Linked DNA regions of Homo sapiens: all the other regions are linked to region 1. The links are contacts of gene promoters, found by promoter capture Hi-C in blood cells and fetal thymus (Javierre and others, 2016). All regions are on one chromosome and are shown on one strand. Each heading gives the region's core, a stretch centred on a gene start or on the middle of the fragment in contact. The rest is flanking DNA. Distances are from core to core; before and after follow the strand shown.

Region 1 (3,326 bases), core at 432-2,931:
CTTGAATCCAGGAGAGGGAGGCTGCAGCGAGCAGAGATTGCACCAATGCACTCCAGCCTGGGCGACAGAGTGAGACTCCATCTCAAAATAAATAAATTAATTAAATAAATAGAGAAAATATTGAGAAACAAATGAAAACAAAAACACAGCATGCCAAAATTTACTGGACACAGTGAAAGCAGTGCTCAGGGGAAATTTTATAGCTATAAGTGCTTCAAAATCATAGACAGAAAATTGCCAGGGCCTGGGGGTATGGGGATGGGAGGAGGGAAGAGGAAGTTATTGTTTAATGGGGACAGAATTTCAGTTTCAGTTTAGCAAGAAGACCAGAATTTTAGAGATAGCTGATGGTGATGATTGCACAATATGAAATGAATGTACTTTGTTGTTGGGGTTTTTTTGTTTTGTTTTGTTGTTGTTGTTGTTGTTTTTTGAGAGGGAGTCTCGCGCTGTCGCCCAGACTGGAGTGCAGTGGCAAGATCTTGGCTCACTGCAAGCTCCGCCTCCCAGGTTCAAGCCATTCTCCTGCCTCAGCCTCCCGAGTAGCTGGGACTACAGGCGCCCGCCACCACGCCCGGCTAATTTTTTGTATTTTTAGTAGAGACAGGGTTTCACCGTGTTAGCCAGGTTGTGTTTTTGTTTTTTTTTTTTTTTTTCAGACGGAGTTTCGTTCTTGTTGCCCAGGCTGGAGTTTAGTGACTGTTGGAGTGAGTGAGCCATCTTGGCCCACGGCAACCTTCGCCTCCCAGGTCAAAGGCTTTTCCTGCCTCAGCGTCCTGAGTAGCTGAGGCTACAGGCATGGGCAACCACGCCTGGCTAATTTTAGTATTGTTAGTAGAGACGGGGTTTCACCATGTTGGCCAGGCTGCTCTAGTACTCCTAGGCTCAAGCGATCCGCCCACCTCGGCCTCCCAAAGTGCTGAGATTACAGAAGTAAGCCACCTTGCCCAGCTCCTTTGTATAAATAAATGATATTGATTTTCTTCTTGCAGCTCAGGAATTAGATCTGTTATTAGAATTTGCTTAAATTTAAGAAATGGCTGGGTACTGTGGCTCACCGCTGTAATCCCAGCACTTCGGGTTGCCGAGGCAGGCGGATTGCTTGCGTCCAAGAGTTCGAGGCCAGCCTCGGCAACACAGTGAGACCCGCCCGCTCTCTGCACCACTCCTTCCCCCCCTCCTTTCCCCGTCTCTACAAAAAATACAAAAATAAATAAATTAGTCCGGCATGGTGGTGACTGCCTGTGGTCCAGCTACGCAGGAGGCTGAGGTGGGAGGATCGCTTGAACCCCGGTGGTCGAGGCTGCAGGGAGCCATGATCGCGCGCGCCACTGAACACCAGCCTGGGCGACAAAGCAAGACCTTGTCCCAAAATAGATTAAATAAATAAATAAATAAATTTAAGGAAAAAGCAACTTGATTCGAAGATAAATAGTGATAGTGCAAGTGGTGCCGAACTAACGATAAATTTGGAAAACAGCGGCCCACGCGCAGAGCCCGTCCCAATTCTGGCAGCCTTTGGATTTGGCTTCCACGTTTTCCAGATTTCCCTCGGCCTCTAGCTCGCTTGCGTCAGAGGGGCCCCGAGGGGCGGCCCACCCGCTAGCCCCGCCCCCAACCGCTCACCGCCCCGCGAGCCCCGCCCCCTCGGCCTCCTCCTCATCGGCCGCCGTTGCGCGGCGCAGAGCGGCAGCAAGATGGCGGCGCAACAGCGGGACTGCGGGGGTGCTGCGCAGCTGGCGGGGCCGGCGGCGGAGGCTGACCCCCTAGGACGCTTCACGTGTCCCGTGTGCTTAGAGGTGTACGAGAAGCCGGTACAGGTGCCCTGCGGACACGTGTAAGCGGCGAGCCCGGGCCTGGTCGGGGGGCGCTTAACTGGGAAGGGAATGGAGCCGAGGAGCGAGATGGGTCTCAGGGCGGGAGCCAGAGGACCCACCCAGAGGGGCCTCCCGGGGGTGTCCCCCGGGGCTCCTAAGGGCCGTGAAAGCTGCCGGGGCGCTCTTCTGTCCCGCCCCGCTCACTCCTAAGTATCCCGTTCCTCCGCCCGTCTTAGCGGGGCAGCTGCTGTCTGTTGAGCGCCTGCGATGTTCCAGGCGGCCTGTCAGTCTCCTTCCCACACGTGATAGTGGACTCGTGCCCTGCGGGGACTTTAGGCTCCGAAGTCCGCCCTTGGAGAGCCGACGTTTCCTTTCTAGTCCACGTCGCTCTTAAAGCATAGGACATTTGGCGTCGTGTCTAGCTGTGGCGAGTTATTCTACTGTGCACTAAAGTCGGGAGAAACGCTGAACTAGACTAAAACAACAAAAGGGAAGTCTTTATGGGGATCTGGCCAGTTTGCCCTTAGCTGTGAAAGGGGGGTGGGAGTTGGCAGATGGGATTGTTAGCATTCTACTTCCTGTGTAGGAGGTTTGTTTCTTTCAGTTTTCAATTAAGCCTTCATGACCTGAATATTGTGAATAGAGTGGTTATAATGATTAAAGCAGATATGTGTATAAATGTCCAGTCCAGGTCCTGGGCTGTGGCCGGGGCTTTCGAGGTTGGTCAGGTTGGTCGATTTGAATCTAAGCCTTGTTCCATCAGACGCACAAACACATCTGAGTTGAAAGAATTGTAGACAACGTGGCCACCTGCTTCTTGCCTCAGAATTGGCTTTTCCTCTGGCCCCTCTCAGTGCTTATCGTGGGATCACCTTGGCATTGGTCTTGGCAGCGGGCACAGTAGCCATTGCACTCCATGGGCATTATTCTATAGCCACCCTGCAGCGGGGGAGGGTTGGCAGCCATTTTACAGGTGAATACACTGAGGGTCCGAGGCTCTCTTAGGGAAGGGTCACCGTGGCCTAGCTCTTCCCAGATGTACTGCAGGTGACCATTTCAGTAGTCCAGAGAACAGTGCTTGGCACCTAGCTGGCTGCTTTTTGCTTCATCATGTTGCTTTAGGCTATTCATCTTTGCAATTCGGTTAGCCTGGAACTCTTCCCCCCACCCCTCCCTTTTCAGGCTTCAAGTCCCAGGTTAAGTTACCTCACCAAATACCATCCCCATCTAAATTACTTCCCCCACTTCCTTTCTGGGACTTAACTTCCTTCTCCTTGCTTGCACAGAGCAAAACTTAACAGCTCATGACGGAGTGGCCATATCTTTATTGCCCCTGAACTGACTGGAATGGCCTCTGTGTGCCAGATTTTGGGGTAGACTCTGCCTTCAGAGTTTACAGTCCAGTGAATTGATTATAAATAAGTACCAATGACTGGTCAAACTATTGTAAAAATTCATTCTGCAAGTGGGAGGGTATTTCAGGGATCACACCTCTGTGCGTGGGGTGAG
Region 2 (3,350 bases), core at 520-3,019, 410 kb before region 1:
AGCACAGCAGCAATCACAGAAAGACATCAGCAACAACCTAACTGGCAGATTGGGCTGGAGTCTCAAACTCAACTCACTCCAGAGAAGGCAGGCCAAGTAAAAGAGAGACGGGCCAGAAAGGGGCCATGGCACTTAGCCCACCAACCAGCCCTCGGCAGGAGAGGGAAACACCCCAGCATGGCCAGAAGGCCTGTGCTTTCAAAGGAAGCTGATAATCCAGACAATTATGTATAACCTTCTGATGTTTTTTAAGGTTAGCATCCAAGTAAAAAGTTTTTAATCACTGTGCAGACCACAGAAGCATCTCTGAAGGTCAACTTTGGCCCACAGATCACTAGCGTGCATCACCATTAAACAGACAATGGTGTGTTTATGTTCTGGAAACATACAGCAGTGAAAGTGAGTTAGTACATTTTACCTACAGACACAGAGAGTTCCCAAGGGCAGACTGGTAAGGGGATAAAGCCGGGCACTGAAGAATGACACTATTTAGATATTGTTTTCTTTTCTACTTCTTTTTTTTTTTTTAAAATATTTTCATGAACCATACATGAGCCTTAATATACATTGTTTTAAAGCTCCACGGTAATGCTATTTATATGCACAAATATAAAGTTTAAAACAAAAATATAAAATATAAAATTTGGTTTTCTCCGAAATCACCCCTTGGAAAAGTGAGAGTCATTTTGGATTGCTCTGAAGTTTCAAAGTATTGGAAACTCCCTCACTGACTCTTCTGAACCACAAGCCGTGTTTCAGGAAGACTCGCCCCACCAGCGATTCTAAACCTGGCTGCACCTCACAGGGCATTTGAAAGGGTCGAAAATGTAGACTATGTTTTTTTTTTAAAGTATGTTGGCTTCATTTTCAAATAATACGCTGAATATGTTTAACTTTTAGACTTCAACTTGAGCTCATTGTTTTACATTGAAATGAATGTCACCATTTCGGGTGACATTTCAATGTAAAGCAATAAGCTTAAGTGTTCAACTGAAATACATTATCTTCCTATGTTTCTCCACTTTTCAGGCTCTCTGAAGAATTACCTGGGAGCTCTTAAATCTCTGGATGCCCAGGTGCCAACCCCAGATTGATCATGTCAAAATCACGTGCGTGGGAACTGGGCATCCAGAGGTTTAGGCCTGCAGGGCGCGGGCAGTGTTGAAACCACCTCAGTTGATGCCAACTCTGGATACTTCTAAGCATCATCTGATGGGATGGCTAAAAAAAGAGGCAAAGAAATTTAACACAGCTTTAGAAATAACTGGCATTCTTTGAAGTCTGACCACACAACTGCAATCTTGAATATCACTGTAAACACGGCGTTTACAGATGACTTTAAAAAGCAAGGCAGGACCATTCTCCACTTTTCCCCTGTGCCTACAGCAGTTCTGAGTACATAGGAGGCACTCTATATTTGCACAATCAATGAATAATTAAGCAAAAAAGGTAATGCAGTATGAAAAGACAGCTGACAGAAAGTGAGAAAATATTTGTAAATAATATATCTGATAAGGGTCTAACACCCAAAATATATAAAAGAACTCCTACGACTCAACAACAATAAAAAACAAACAACCTGATTTGAAAATTGGCAAAGGACTTGAATAGATATTTCTCCAAAGAAGAGATACAAATGGCTGATAAACACATGAAACAATGCTCAACACCATTAGTCATTAGAAAATGCATGTAAAAACCACAGTGTGATACCATTCACAACCATGAGGATGGCTACTATTTAAAACATAGGAAATAAGTGATGGTGAGGACGTGGAGAAATTGGAACCCTTATGCATTGCTGGTGGGAATGTAAAATACTGCAGTTGCTGTGAAAAAGAGTTTAGCAGTTCCTCAGAAAGTTAAAGAATTACCATATGATCCAGTAATTCTAGTTCTAGGTATATAGCCCAAAGAACTGAAACCAGAGACTCAAACAGATACTCGTGCACCAATGTTCATAGCAGCATTATTCACAGTAGCCAAAAGGCAGAAACAACCCAAATGTCGGTTGATAGGTGAATGGATAAATAGAATGCAGTATATACACACAATGTATTCACTCTTAAAAAGGAATGAAATTCTGACGCATATGCCAGGCATGGTGGCTCACGCCTGCAATCCTAGCACCTTGGGAGGCCAAGGTGGGCAGATTTCCTGGGCTCAGGAGTTAGAGAACCAGCATGGGCAACATGGTGAAACCCTGTCTCTACTAAAATACAAAAAAAAAAAAAAAAAATTAGCCAGGCATGGTGGTGTGTACCTGTAATCCCAGCTACTCAGGAGGCTGAGGCACAAGAATAGCTTGAACCCGGGAGGCGGAGATTGTAGTGAGCTGAGATGGCGACACTGCACTCCAGCCTGGGCGACAGAGACTCTGTCTCCAAAATCTCATATAATGAGAATCCTAGAACAGGAAATTCAGAGACAGAAAGTACAATAGAAGTATACTATTCGACAGAAAGTAGAATAGAAAGTAGAATAGAAGAGACAGAAAGTAGAATAGAAGATATGTCGGGCTGGGAGGAAAGGCAGGTGGGGAATTATTGTTTAATGGGCACAAAGCTTTTGTTTAGAATCATGAAAAGTTTCTGGAAATAGATAACGGCATGGTTATACAACATTGTGAATGTATTTACTGCCACTGAATTATACAATTAAAATGGTTAAAATAGTATATTTTATGTTATTTATTATTTTACCACAATTTTTTTAAAAGGCATATGAAGGTCATTTGGCAAAAATGAGTCAAAGATAGTGTTGTATAACAAAGAATTTGCATTCTGGGCGGGTGCAGTGGCTCACGCATGTAATCCCAACACTTTGGGAGGCCAAGGTGGGCAGATCACTTGAGTTCAGGAGTTTGAAGCCAGCCTGACCAACATGGTGAAACCCCGTCTCTACTAAAAATACAAAAAAGGATAAGCTGGGGGTGGTGGCAGGCACCTGTAATCCCAGTTACTTGGGAGGCTGAGGCAGCAGAATCACTTGAACCCGGGAGGTGGAGGTTGCAGTGAGCTGAGATGGAGCCACTGCACTCCAGCCTGGGTGACAGAGTGATACTCAAAATACAAAAGAATTTGAATTCCAAGGTTTCAGTTACCCATGGTCAACCATGGTCCAAAAATATTAAATGAAAAATTCCGGACATAAACAGTCATAAGTTTTAAATTACATGCTGTTCTGAGTAGTGTGTTGAAATCTTGTGCCATCCTGCTCTGTCCTGCCTGGCAAAAAACACAGGATAAAAATATAGCAGTGGGCTGGGTGCAGTGGCTCACTCCTGTAATCCCAGCACTTGGGGAGGCCGAGACGGGCAGATCACCTGAGGTCAGGAGTTCGAGACCAGC
Region 3 (3,038 bases), core at 331-2,830, 290 kb before region 1:
CAGGCACCAACAAAACCATAATACAAGAGGCCTTTGTTCATGAGCCAACAAAGCTCTCTCCTGGATTCAAGTGTGCCCAGTACTGGGCAACAGACATCTCAAACCAGGAGCACAGAATTGCTCTCTGCTCCCCCTTCAAACCTCAGGCAACTCGATCCTAAGATTTCAGTTTTATTGGCTCTTCACACCAACAGTGGATTAGCTTGCAGCAACCTAAACTGCTGTCTCAGAAGAGAAAAAAGAAAGGAAAAGAAAGGACTACTCACTTGTTCAACCACATAAAATGCAAACTGCAAGCGCTGGCGCTGGAGCATGGGAAGCAGGTGTCTGAACAGGACTGGGAGGTGCTCGTGGCGGTTCCGGAAGGGGATAAGGATCGCCACCTGGAGTGGATTACAGCAAAAGAAGCACAGTTAGGACTCTCAGCTTTCACTCCTTAGCAGGACACCCCTGATGAATTGCTGACCAACCCATGGGAGTTCTGGGAGGCTGGCTATCTTGTCCTCAGCTTTCTCTAAACAAAGATCTATGTTGGCAAGTTGGCCCTTGGACCTAGATGAATGTGATTCTTACATATACCATATCTTATAGTACATAGTAGGCCTATAATTTATTCTAGGCCATAACTCATAGGAAAACACACATTCTACACTGTGACAAAAATACATCTATAAACTTACAATTAAAACAAGCTTCACAAAACAGTATTTCCCCTTACAATGTGCAATGTACAAATGCTGGTTATTCAACTGTTTTTATTTCCCAGCGATGGGCTGGATACTGATGTGTTCCAGATCTGCTGCATCAGCAGCACTTAACGAGGCTGGCACAGAATACGCATTTTAATAGATACTTGTTGAAAGAATGGACTTCAGCTGGGGTCACAGCTTAACGAAAACTACTGATGTCTTCTGACTATGGTCAGGCAGAAAAAAACTAAATCTCAATGTCAAGCCAGGTAACTTTGCTTTTTAATCCACTAATCTTGTAGTAACCAATGGAGAACAGGAATGAAGCACTGACTCTGTAGATGACTTCTGCAAATGGGTCATTAGAGACCACCAACGCCCTCATCCCCTTGCTTTGTTAATATTCCTGGTGGGAAGACCAAAGGGTCTTGCTCGGTCATCAGAATAATGCAAATTTCTGTATCTACAAAAAGAGTCCTTGTGGAAACCCATTCCTCTAAAATGTTTCTACATTTGCATGGAATGGTAGGATGAAAATGACAAAATGTCATGGTTAGCTAATCCCATGGTGATTCGGACCAAAGGCAAACCCCAGGTGGGCTTCTCAGCATTTTGGCTGTGACTTCACACCCTACCTTCCACCGAGGCATGCAATCAGAAGGCTTCCAGTGACCTCCGAGCTTGATGGTTGGGTCTTTGGAGAAGAGTTCATGAATGTAATCCATTCCAATTTCACTCATGTTTATGTCTATTGGGCCCTCTGAACAGAGACGGGGAAAAGGGATTAAGAGGTCAGAAAATGATAGGTTTCCCTATGCCTGGGGTTTTAGTCTCTGGAGAGCGCAATGCTTTTTCAGCTGAATTTGTTTTTAGCAAGGATGGAAGTCCCTTCCTCTGCTTTCCATCTCACCGTATTTCAGTTCCTCACTATTTTCAAGGTGAAGAGGCAAATCAAGGAATTAAGACTTTAGAGTTCTGCTTCTGTCAGGGGCCAGGTAGAAATGAAAACTTTAAGTAAAACAGTAGCTGAGCTTTTTTTTTTTTTTTTTTTTTTTTTTGAGACAGTCTCGCTCTGTTGCCCGGGCTGGAGTGCAGTGGTGTGATCTCAGCTCACTGCAACCTCTGCCTCTGGGTTCAAGCAATTCTCCTGCCTCAGCCTCCTGAGTAGCTGCGGTTACAGGCATATGCCACCACACCCAGCTAATTTTGTATTTTTAGTAGAGATGAGGTTTCACCTTGTTGGCCAGGCTGGTCTCGAACTCCTGACCTCAAGGGATCCACCCACCTGGGCCACCCAAAATGTTAGGATTACAGTCGTGGGCCACTGTGCCCAGCCTTCTTTTTTTTTTGTTTTGTTTATTAATATGTTTTAATAAATAGAGACAGGGTCTCACTATGTTGCCCAGGTTGGTCTTGAACTCCTGAGCTCCAGTGATTCTCCCACCTTGGCCTCCCAAAGTGCTGGGATTATAGCTATGAGCCCCTGCACCTGGCTGCAGCTGAGCTTTTCTGAGAAGAAGGAGAAAAGCAGCTGAGCTTAGAGTCATGTCAGGTTTGCTCCTGATGCAAGTGCAGCCACACTACCTCTCTCAATCCATTCACCAGTGGGTCAGGACCCTGAGTGATTATGTCCTAACTCAGAATGCTGGTCATCTCTGACTTAAGTCAGGAAGTGGTACAGTAACAATCAATAAATGCTACTGAAACAATGAACTAATAACATTAGTTTTAGGCCTGTCAACGCCTATTTCTGATACACAAATCTCAGCCTTCCCAAACTAAGCTTACATCTAGATGCAGACAAATGCAGGTTTTAAAGGGAAAACCTATATATGTGTGGTGAGACATGCAAATGAAACAGTAAGGCTTCCAACACAACTTACATACTTATAATTAATTATTCATATATGGATGAGAATATGTTCAAATACCATGCACGACTATTTCTAACATTTTCCCTATTTTCACTATATTTGTGCATAAAAGTCAACTTTGCAAATGTAAGATTTTCCTTTTCTTGATCTCACTTCTTAAAAAAAAACAATTTTAAAAAAAGAAGTGGGGAACCATATTAAGAAGCCTAAAAGTATAGGAAAGGTATAAGAGTTTACTGTCCTTGTTTTAGCTTACACGAGATTCAAAAAAAAGAACAAAAAGATCTAAGAATTGTTTTAACTAGCACTTTGTTAAGAAAATAACTTCCAAGCAAGGCATGGTGGCTCATGCCTGTAGTCCCAGCTTCTCAGGAGGCTGAGGCAGGACGATTGCTCCCTGAAGTTGGAGACCAGCCTGGGCAACATAGTGAGACCCCCACCTCTAAGATCAAGCACTACAATCAGTGAGAGGTTT
Region 4 (3,251 bases), core at 169-2,668, 360 kb before region 1:
ACCCTGGCCAACATAGCAAAACCCCATCTCTATTAAAAGTACAAAAATTAGCCGGGCATGGTGGCACACACCTGTAATCCCAGCTACTCGGGAGGCTGAGGCACGAGAATCACTTGAACCCCAGAGACAGAAGTTGCAGTGACCTGAGATTGAGCCACTGCACTCTAGCCTGGGCGACAGAGCAAAACTCTGTCTCAAAAAATAAATAAATAAATAAAAATAAATAAAGGTGTGAGCATCCATGCACCAGATAACACAGCAACAGATAGTTACAGAGCAAGGACATTTTAAGTCACTTCTCTCAGCTCTTGAAATACCAAGGGAAAAAAAAAAGGAAATAGAAAGTCAAAATAACATAGTGAACCACAAACACTGGCTACCTAGTAAGCCACAAAGAACATGGCAATAATTTTTTTAAAAGCAGAATAAAAGTACAATAGTCTCAGATCGCAATGCAACAAGCCTGTGTGACCTCCATTCCTCTCCCTCCCACCCCAGCACCTCCCCAGAGGGCAATAATCCCCCAGCCCCACTTCACCAGGCATCAGCTCCTGTGTCTGTTCCATGTTAGATCATGTTAGATCTCATCTTGGCCAGACACGGTGGCTCACGCCTGTAATCCCAGCACTTTCAGAGGCCGAGGCAGGTGGATCACCTGAGGTCAGGAGTTCAAGACCAGCCTGGCCTACATGGTGAAACCCCATCTCTACTAAAAGTACAAAAATTAGCTGAGCATTGTGGCAGGCACCTGTAATCCCAGCTACTTGGGAGGCTGAGGCAGGAGAATCGCTTGAACTGGGAGGCGGAGGTTGTGAGCTAAGATCGCGCCACTGAACTCCAGCCTGGGCAACAGAGTGAGATGCTGTCTAAAAAAAAATCTCATCTCAAACACACAAACATTTCACTGCTTTAAAAAAAAAAAAATAGAAATCTTTGGTGGATGTTCAGCCACGCTCATGGTTCACAGCTCCAAACTCTGATGCACAGGCAATCACATAGCCCAAATGTCTACATGTCCTGCATGTCCGCAGAGGGCTAGAGTGAGAGAGCCTGGGCTCCACGGCCAGACTATGTGAACTCAAAGCCTGGCACCCGCCCCCCCACTTAAAAGGCCTCAGGCATATTGCTTATCTGTGCCTTTGTTTCCCCAGGTGTCAAATGGAGTTGGTTGTGAGGATGAAAAGAGTTAATCTCTGGAAGTATGGAAAGCCTTGGATAAATGTGGGCTATTAGCATTATTTTCACAGCCTCCCAACCTCCCTCCACTAATACCAGACACGCTGGAGAGAGTTCTCTGTCTCCCTAACCATTTATTTGGTGATCAGAAGGACCTTCTGCCTGTGATTTCTGACCTGGCAGGATACTGGGGGACCACTTTTGCCTCTGCCTGGAGATAGCATGTCTGAGAATGAAACCGACTTACAGGGCAGCAGAACCAAGAGATAGGGAAATACAGTTTCTTGAGATATCATTTGAACCCCCGGATTCAGCCATGCCTGAAGCCAGAATGCTCCTGACCACATGAACCATTAAATTATTTTTGTTTGCTTGTTTCAGCCAATTTGGGTTGAGTTTCTTTCACTTGCAATAGAAGAAAGTTCTCCATTCTGAAGCTGAATAAGGTAGTATGTGAAGTACTTGTTTCATACCTGGTGCTTAATGGATGAAACCTTATTACATTCTCATTTCGTAAACCTTCTCCAGGGCTTTCTGGGAGGCAACCAGATATGAATTAGAGTGACACAGCTTTGCACTCCTTGCCCAGCCTGGATAAGATGCCCCATTCGCAGCAAGCTCTATGCAGTCAGGGCCAGCTTCATGGACATGCAACCTGGGTGCTCACATAGGCCCCTGCACCCAGAATGGTCTCATGCTCGGCTTAGCGCTCTCCTGTCACCAGCTTGAAATTCTTAATTATTTTTGAACAAGGGTCCCCATGATTTTACTTTACTCTGGTACCCACAAAGTATATAGCTGGTCTTAATACCAGTATCATCTCCACTTTCCAGGTGAGGAAACTGAAGCTCAAAGAGGGGAAGCAAGCAGCCCAAGGTCACACAGCAAGAAAGGGGTGGAGCTGGGAATCAAATTCTGATTCTGAGGCCCAAGTTCATAACTGCGATGTGCCAGTGCCTGGACAATTCCTCATATGTGGATGGCACTTCACAGTTTATACTCTAGTGCATAGCATTTGACCCTCATACCAGCTTTAGAAGCAGAAATTGTCATGCTGGCATCAGGCAGAGTACTTGGGTTTGTTCAAGCCTCAGAAACCAACCCTGGCTAATTTAAGAAAAAGAAAAGGTGGGGACGAGGTATTGGAAGGAAAAGTTGACCAGCTGGGACTTGGAAAGGACAGGAACAAGCAGCTCCGGGAACGCGGGGAGCAGGAGCCAGGGGTGTGGGGAGCAGGAACCAGTGGCCAGGTCTTCGGGGCTCCAGCTGTTTCCAATCTCAGCATTCCTTCCGCTTCAGTTTCTGATTCTCCCACGAGAAAGTCTGATTGGCCATGTTTGGGTCATGTGCCTGCCCACAGACCTTGATGGTCAACCAAACAAGGTGGGAAGGATGATCCCCCAAAGGCGGGTCAGAAAGTGGGGTGGGAGGGCTGAAAGCTGGGCAGGGACGGCTGTGTGCGCATTTTACAGATGAGGAATGGGAAGCCCAGACAGAAGGCAAGGCCACAGAACCGGGAATGGTGGAGTCTGGGCTCCAGTCAGAGGCCCAGGCTGCCTCTCTTCACTCCCAGGACTCCAGGCTGGCAGGGGAACAGGAGGGCATTGTTCTCCCTGTTGGAGTGAATGGCCGCCTCCTGGGAAACCCAGGACCCAGATGGGGTCTCCCCAGGGCGCAGGAAACTGCCTCAGACTGAGCTGTATTCAGGGGTCGAAGCCTCCTCCCCACCCTCCCCCTACAGTGGACAGACTCCCCCTTCAAATCCAACCTCACTGCTCAGCTCTAGCCCTATGGTTTTTAAGAGAAGCTAGTGGGGGAAAGGCTTATTTTTCCAATGTGCATTTTTTCCGGTATGTAAGATACTGTGTGGACCAAATAAAATATGTCCAGACCTGGAAACAGCCCAAGCATAGCTAGTTTATAAGTCCTGGAATGCTCCTTCCTGCACACAAAAATTAAGGGTCTGTTTACATAGATATGCTAGTGTGTTGGAGTTGAACTTTTCCTTACTCTGAACTCAGATATGCAAAGAAAAATGAGCCTTTTACATTTTCCATGGATGTCATCTAGTTCAG

Evidence for each region. The method cuts DNA at HindIII sites, captures the fragments that hold promoters and counts their contacts. A CHiCAGO score of 5 or more calls a contact.
Region 2: a contact is called between a fragment that was not itself captured here and the fragment with the promoter of RNF114 in region 1, in 1 of 17 cell types (M0 macrophages). The highest score is 5.1, in M0 macrophages.
Region 3: a contact is called between a fragment that was not itself captured here and the fragment with the promoter of RNF114 in region 1, in 1 of 17 cell types (M2 macrophages). The highest score is 5.1, in M2 macrophages.
Region 4: a contact is called between a fragment that was not itself captured here and the fragment with the promoter of RNF114 in region 1, in 1 of 17 cell types (monocytes). The highest score is 5.2, in monocytes.

The regions. Positions count from the first base shown.
Region 1 is chr20:49,934,716-49,938,041 of GRCh38, forward strand. RNF114 (ring finger protein 114) reads left to right here and starts at 1,682. Exons shown (of 6, transcript NM_018683.4): 1 at 1,682-1,837. The coding sequence starts at 1,698. RefSeq lists silencers at 883-962, 1,529-1,718, 2,177-2,471, 2,757-3,051 and an enhancer at 1,331-1,936. The HindIII fragment of the contact is 14,536 bases long and covers 1-3,326 here.
Region 2 is chr20:49,525,069-49,528,418 of GRCh38, forward strand. All of the region lies in intron 5 of PTGIS (prostaglandin I2 synthase), which reads right to left. Among named protein-coding and RNA genes, the nearest start is that of PTGIS, 41 kb to the right of the region's middle. The HindIII fragment of the contact is 1,588 bases long and covers 976-2,563 here.
Region 3 is chr20:49,642,202-49,645,239 of GRCh38, forward strand. It overlaps B4GALT5 (beta-1,4-galactosyltransferase 5), which reads right to left. Exons shown (of 9, transcript NM_004776.4): 4 at 1,325-1,449; 5 at 267-383. Among named protein-coding and RNA genes, the nearest start is that of B4GALT5, 70 kb to the right of the region's middle. The HindIII fragment of the contact is 1,780 bases long and covers 691-2,470 here.
Region 4 is chr20:49,577,575-49,580,825 of GRCh38, forward strand. No RefSeq gene overlaps it. Among named protein-coding and RNA genes, the nearest start is that of PTGIS, 11 kb to the left of the region's middle. RefSeq lists an enhancer at 2,546-3,120. The HindIII fragment of the contact is 4,359 bases long and covers 1-3,251 here.